2 separate regions of the Homo sapiens genome follow, and region 2 is linked to region 1. Evidence: promoter capture Hi-C in 16 types of primary human blood cells and fetal thymus (Javierre and others, 2016). All regions are on one chromosome and are shown on one strand. Each heading gives the region's core, a stretch centred on a gene start or on the middle of the fragment in contact. The rest is flanking DNA. Distances are from core to core; before and after follow the strand shown.

Region 1 (3,474 bases), core at 495-2,994:
AGATGAGGTGGCTGGGCTGGCTGTCTGGGGCCATAGTGCAGTGGAGGCCCCTTGTCAGGGGCGGGGTGGGCCTAGCAGGCAGCAACCCCATGCCCCTGCCCCCGCCCCTGGCCACAGGTGGCTCCTGGGAGCGGTCGAATTCCTGAGTGCCTGTGCCCCTGCCTGGGGCATCTCCAGGAAAGCCCCCACCCCTCATGTGCAACAAGCGCCACGAATGGTGCCATGAATGTCTGCGTCGCACGCCCTGCACTGCAGTATGGACTTGGGAGGCTGTGGTGCCGGATCCGAGCTTCACAACCCCTCCCCTCCCCTCCCCCAGGCTGCCTGCCTCGCTCCTTCTCTCCCCTCCTCTCTCCATTCAGCCTCCTGCTGTAGCTTGTCCCAGGAGAGGGGGCTGCAGGGTCCAGGGAGTCCAGGCCAGAGTCAGCTGTCCCAGCCCAGGAACAGACTGGTCTCACCCCCTCGGTTCCTGCACACCTGCTCACAGAAAGCCCGGGTCCCAGAGGTACCATCTGCTAAAGCACAGAGACGTTAATCCCCACCCCAGGTCTGCACGCTGAGGGACCCTGGCGGGGGCGTTGTAGAGGACCAAGGGCAGTACTGGCCGGGCCTTCTTGGGGAAGCTACTACGTGATCACGAGCAGAGGGGAATTGAAGGGATGGAAGCCATGGCATGGGGGGCTGGGCTCTCCGGGGCACATGGGAGGTGAAGACGCAGGTATGGCTGCAGGGATTTAGGAGAGGGGTGAGGCAGGACACAGGGGCAGGGGGCGGGCAGAGGCCTGCAACAGGGCAGCCTGGACAGGACCCTGTCTGCCGCTGGAACAGAGAGCTGGCAGGCCAGCCCGGACCGGGGCCCTCCACAGGCCACCACAAGACACACACTCCACCCTCCCAGCCATACCCAGCCAGTCTCCTCTGCAGAGTCTCCTAACGGCAAAGGCCCTCATGTCCGGCACCAGGATGCCAGCCCAGCCGCCTGGGCTGCAAGCACCACTGACCCCCAGAGCACAAGGCACCCCTTCAATGAGAGCATTGGAGCCACCTGAGATCCCCCCTCGCCCCCTTGGGTTCAGCCCCCAGGCCCTGCAGGTGCCTGGGAGACCGAGGTGTGCTGAGCACGCCTCTGAGCGGCTGAGGGGCAGGGCCAGCCGACGCTGCTGGACCCACATGATCCCTAGAGCACCCGGGGGACAGGGGAGGCGAGTGCAGGATGGGATGGAGGCCCAGGCTTCCCCCACCTCCAGGAACAGCCCCCACCCACCAGTCACCTGGCCAGGGCCAGCACTCAGCCCAGGCCACTCGCCTGCCCCTTCTTACCCAGGGGGCCGAGCTGCCACTCTGAAGACAGCACCACACTCCCTCCAACCCAGAGGAGTACCTCCGCCAGCCAGGCCACCGTTCCCTTGGTCCGGCTGTCGGGGGAGGGCCATGGACCAGACATGGCCTGACGACAGCCGGGCCTGCTTCACGGAGGCCACAGAGGCCCACCGGCCTTCGGGCAGCGGAGGTCAGGCAGTGGCAGCGCTGGCGACAGGACCTCCGTGGGGCCTTCTCTCCTCTGCCTCTTCCTCCTCCTCCTCAGGGCCCTCCGAAGCCCCCACAGGGCTGTGCCCAGGCCCGGCTGGCATTGGCCTGACCGTCACCTGCTGTCCTGATGGCCCCCAGGCCAGCCTATCCACCCTCCAGGGCCACCAAGGAATCCCTGACGCAGCCGCCTCCCAAGGCTGGGGGAGCAAAGGACCTCAGCCCCGCCCAGCCCCAGGCCCAATCCCTGTGCTAATCCCAGCTCCAGCCCAGCTGGTGGAGGATTTAGGCCGAGGGAACTCCCAGCTGGGGATGGGAGGGCACTGGGGAGGCAACAGAGTTTCCCAAGGCCCCAGGCCACCAGACCCAGGTCAGGGCTGCGGGACAAGAGCAGGACCAACGGGAGGGCCCTCCTGGGACCCAGAGAACGCAACCGGAAGGCCTGCAGGGTACTGTCCTCCGAGGACCCTGTGTGGGGTGGGCCTCCCCGCTGTGCGCCCACCACAGATGCCGAGGCTGGGCCTGGAGTGGTCCCTGCCCTCACCCCGCATCCCTACTTATGAGGACCTCTGAGTGGATCCCCAAAGTCCAGAGGCAGGTGGCCCAGAGCAGGGGCAGAAGCTCACCTCATCCCCGCAGCGCCCAGCCCCTGTGGCTGGAGAGGGGAGCCGAGCCGGATCCCTTACAGCGACAACTCCCAGCCCAGGCCCAGGATGTGGGTCCCTGAGCCTGGGTTGGGCTCTCCATGTCTCCCTCATGCAGCTGCAGCCCCAGCCTGACCTTTCTCCACGGTCACCGAGCTGTGGCGGAGGAGGTGGCCCCATGCCCAGGGCACGTTTGTCCCCACATTCTGCCCTGCAGGGATGACAGCCATCTGACCTGGACAGGGGCCTCGCCCAAGGAGGACCCACCCCACCGTCTCAGCTCCCACTGAGGAAAGGACTCCAGGTCCCACTGCCACCAGGACCACACAGCCCACCCTGTGTACTGGCCCCGCACTACAGGACAGCACAGGCTCTCCCATCCCCAAGTCCAGGCCGGGACACCAGGGGCAGCTGTGGGAATGGGAGGTGGGCAGACCCCGGCTGAACACCAGCCACCTGTGTCCTGGCCATGCCCATGCTTCGTGACCACACTGGGGAGAACCCCGCCCTTCTTCCCACCCACTGCCCAGGCTCTACTGGCTCCAGCAACAAGGACTGGAAGGTTCCGGGCAGCTGCTCGCCTCCCCCCATACCAGGGGAGGAGTTTGGCCTGCAGAGCCCAGGACAGGGAGGTGCCAGGGCTGGGCATCCTGGCAGAGCCCCGGGGCCAAGGTCAGGCGTGGGAGGTGGCAGTCCCTGAGGAGATGGCCATGCGTCTCCAGCTGACCACTGACAACCAGGGCCACACCCAGCCAGATCAGATGCAGTCAGCACAGAGCCAACCCAGGCCCCCACCAGGGGCCCCGTCACAGGCTCTGCTGCTCTCGGCGGAAGCAGGTCAGCAGGCGTTTCTGGGCTCTGCCGTGGAATTAGATTAGGGAGCCATGAGCTGCAGGGAGAGGAGAGGGGCTGGAGTCCCGGGCGTCCTCAGGAAGACAGGGCCTCGGGGAAGGCCACCGTGTAAGGGGCAGCGCAGGGGCCAGGAGGTGGCCTGAGGGCCTGGAGACAGACCAGACGGCCATAGCCCTGGCCCAGGGCCCCTGCCCACCTCATACTGGGCTGCTGCGGGCTTCCACTCTGACCCAGGGGGTCCAGTTCTCCTTCCTGCACCTCAGAGGCCTCCTGGCCTGGGACACACCTGCTGTTCCCTCACCCTGGGCCTGGCCCCAGCTGGGGGTGCTCCCGTCTCTCACCCATCCCTCCTTGAAGCTCCCCAAGGCTGGGCCTCTGCTCCCTCCCTCCCTCCCTTGAGCTCTCAGCCACTAGCTGATCCCCCATCAGCTGGGGTTAGGGCTTGGAGGCC
Region 2 (3,493 bases), core at 433-2,932, 950 kb before region 1:
ATGCCTGAAACGAAGAGGGGGAGCTGGGGATGAGCTAAGGAGGAACCCCATGAGCTCTGTAGATGCACGTGCGCTGCCTCTGTGAAGACAGCCTCCTCCCTGGGGGGCATCCGGCGGGGGGCTGGGACTGGCTTACTGAGAGGCACCCGGCTGGGCTGGGCGACGGTGAAGGGAACCCTGACTGCATGGTTTTCAGTTGCACGTGGGTGCTTGGCATGTGCGTGTGTGCCATGCCTGTGTGTGCACACTTGTGTGTGCTCTTGGTCATCAGAACGCCCGCAGCGGTGCTCATCTGATCCCACAGGCACACACGCACTTGAACATTCTGTTTATATGATCATGCGTTTTCATATTTTGAAAACAAAGCAAGCTCCATGATGCCCATGGCACAGCACACAGAAAGTCTACCCACTGCAGCAGGATCCTGGCCGGGGGGGCCTGGTAGCAGCTGGAGACCAGGCCAGGGCCTCTGTGGGAGCCTCTGTGGAGGCACCAGGATGGGGCAGGGTTTGTTCACCCGGAGTGGGTGTGGCTGTTCTAAGCACAGTGGCCTTCGTTCCCACAGAGGACAGGACTCCGAGAGGCCCCACCCCGCCCCGACCGGTGCCGGTGGCCCGCTCCAGAGCAGCATACTGGTCACATGCCCTTGTCACATGGATGGGGACGTGCCTGGTGACACTCGGGAGTCCTGGCCTCCCAGACCGGGAGGGGCTGTGTGGCTCGGCCTTCTCGGCACGGTGCTGCCCTGTACAGGAGGGGCCTGGGCTGGTGTTTGCTATCACAAAAGCCTGGCGAGGGAGTCTGACCTGCCATCAACACACCCGCAGGGGCCTCCCCAAGGCAGGAAGCTTCAGTCCCACACCTTCCGGGTGCTGCTGCCGGGCCCAGGAGCTCAGCATTCCCCACGTGCAGGGGCTGCGGCCGTGAGAAACTGTCCTTGGAATCTCAGAGCCTGCGAGTCTCCCCCAACTCCCCAGGCTGCCTGGTAAAACCTAGCAAGTCTGAAAATGGGTCCCCTAGAGAACGGGAGGCAGTCCTGGGAGAAGGGCACTCCTCTCCCACGCCTGGCCGAGGCATATCCCCATCCCACTTCGTCCCAGCAAACTTCCCTGGTGCTGCCCTAAGGCTTCATCCACTCAATTCCTGAACCTTCCAACCTTTGCCGGAGGCCAGGCTCACTCTGGCCTCTTCAACAGTAGACAGGAAAAGAAGCATTGGTGATCGAAGTCCCTGAGCTCCCCGAAGTGACCCTCAGCCTTCTCTGCTCCTGATCCCAGGGGCCTGGCCTGTGGGCTTCTTCTCTGGGAGCCCCTGCTCCTGCCCGGGTCAGCTGAGCTGCCTCCGGGCACCCGGGTCCCAGCGTCTCCTCCCACAGCCCAGTGACAGGCAGCGCCCTGGCTTGGACTGGCCATCCACAAAGCCTGCCCTGGGCGGCGCTGCAGTTTTGTTTGACTCGGCCTGTGAACTCACACAAGAATAAGGCCGAGGATGGAGCCCTTTCGGCAGCAGGGTTGGAGATGCTTGGGTGCCCCCCTACCCGACGTGTCCCACACAATCTCCCAGAAAGGAGGGATTTTACACCCTCCAATGCATTTTCTCACATCCCCCACCCTGACACATCCTTAGACTGGAATGGTGGTGCCTGGCCCTGGGACCGCCATGCTTTTGAGGCTGACTGACTGCTGAGAAAGGACACACTGGACTCTGCGTCTCCAGCCCGGATGCAAAGCACCTGCCAGTCTGAGCATTCAGGCTCTGCCCAGCCAGAGGCTTCCCACCCAGCTGGGGCCATGTGCCCCTCTGGCATGTTGAGGCAGCCCAATCTGTCTGCCTGCCTGACTGTCTGTCTGCCTGCCAGTCTGCCTGCTTGCCAGTCTGTCTATCTGCCTTCCTGCCTGTCCATCTGCTTGTCTGTCTGCCTGTCTGTCTGCCTGCCTGTCTGTCCATCTGTCTGTCCACCTGCCTGTCTGTCTGCCTTCTTGCCTGTCTGCCCTGCCTGTCTGTCTGCCTGTCTGTCCATCTGTCTGTCTGCCTACCTATCTATCTATCTGCCTTCCTGCCTGTCTGCCCTGCCTGTCTGTCTGCCTGTCTGCCTGCCTGTCTGTCCATCTGTCTGTCCACCTGCCTATCTTCCTTCCTGCTTGTCTGCCCTGCCTGTCTGTCTGCCTGTCTGTCCATCCATCTGTCCATCTACCTGTCTGTCTGCCTTCCTGCCTGTTTGCCTGTCTGTCTGTCTGCCTGTCTGTCCGCCTGCCTGTCTGTCTTCCTGTCTGTCCGCCTGCCTGTCTGTCTGCCTGCCTGTCTGTCTTCCTGTCTGTTTGCCTGCCTATCTTCCTGTCTGTCCGCCTGCCTGTGTGTCTGCCTGTCTGTCTGCATGTGTGCTCAAACACGGCTCATTCAGTTCCTGGTTTCTTTGGAAATGCAGAGACTTTTGCAGAAAGTCCACCTAATGGCTCTTGCATAAACCCTAGCAATTGTGGATCCGAGGTAAGAAATGGGATTGGAAAAGAAGCTTGTTCATAAAACTGGAGAGCAAGTCCCTTGTGTGAAGCTCTGGGGCCGGGGAGAGCCACGAACAGGGCTGTGCGTTCAATTTGGTTGCAGAGAGCCCTGAACGTGGCCCTCTCTTGCTTCTAATCTAAATAAATGGCCCAGACAGAGAAGTCCATTTGAAATTTAGGGGAGCCGTGAGCCCAGGGCTGCGAGGGAGCAGAGTTCTCCGAGCAGCTGGGGTCTGCGTTGTAAATAAGCTGACAAGCGGCCAGTGAAATTGATGGTCTCACTGCGTAAAATAACACGCCCGTGAGCTCCAAAAGGAAGGAGAACGTGCAGGGTAGCCTGGCCCTGGTGCAATGCGGAGGGCCTTGAGAGGACCTTGCTGTGACCGTGCCTGCTGCACTCCCAGAGAAGCCATTGGCAGGGGAACAACAGAGTATGGGCAGGTCAGGGGGGGTGGCCAGGGCCCCCGAGCCCCTGAGCACTGGGCAGCGGCATCCTTCCTAGGATCCAGTGAGGTCTCCTGCAGCCACTACAGGGGGATCTGCTTTTGGTGACTGTAAAAGTGAGGGAAGAGGAAGAAAGAAGAGATTTTGAAACCCAGCCGTAAAAATACAACTAAAAAAGAAAGGACATGCACGGGCCGCGTGCAGCCCCCGATGGAAGCACAACTGTGCCTCCCTTGCACGCTCCAGCTTCACACAGAAGGCAGGATGGAGCCTGGGGAGATGATGGAAGCACACGGCAGACTAGGGAGTCAGCAGCCCTGAGGCAGGAATCTCGGTCCCAGCAGGAGTCCCGGGCAGCCCTGCTCGCATCCAGGCTGTGACTCCAGGCTCCACTGGGCAGCCTCCCAGAGAGACCCCCGGGCCGGCTGTCAGGACGAAGACCAAGGAGCAGCCCCTCTCCCCACTCCCAGTTCAATTTTCATGCTTCTCCAACCCAAATCCCGCAAAGCCTATATGCTTAACTTTTTTTTTAAGAAATAAGACTGCCA

Evidence for each region. The method cuts DNA at HindIII sites, captures the fragments that hold promoters and counts their contacts. A CHiCAGO score of 5 or more calls a contact.
Region 2: a fragment that was not itself captured here is called in contact with the fragment with the promoter of PLCH2 in region 1 in 1 of 17 cell types (endothelial precursors); the score reaches 5.6 in endothelial precursors.

The regions. Positions count from the first base shown.
Region 1 is chr1:2,474,559-2,478,032 of GRCh38, reverse strand. PLCH2 (phospholipase C eta 2) reads right to left here and starts at 1,744. Exons shown (of 22, transcript NM_014638.4): 1 at 1,321-1,744. The coding sequence starts at 1,444. The HindIII fragment of the contact is 30,181 bases long and covers 1-3,474 here.
Region 2 is chr1:3,420,733-3,424,225 of GRCh38, reverse strand. The region is part of intron 12 of PRDM16 (PR/SET domain 16); the gene reads right to left. Among named protein-coding and RNA genes, the nearest start is that of ARHGEF16, 32 kb to the left of the region's middle. RefSeq lists an enhancer at 3,062-3,493. The HindIII fragment of the contact is 1,664 bases long and covers 851-2,514 here.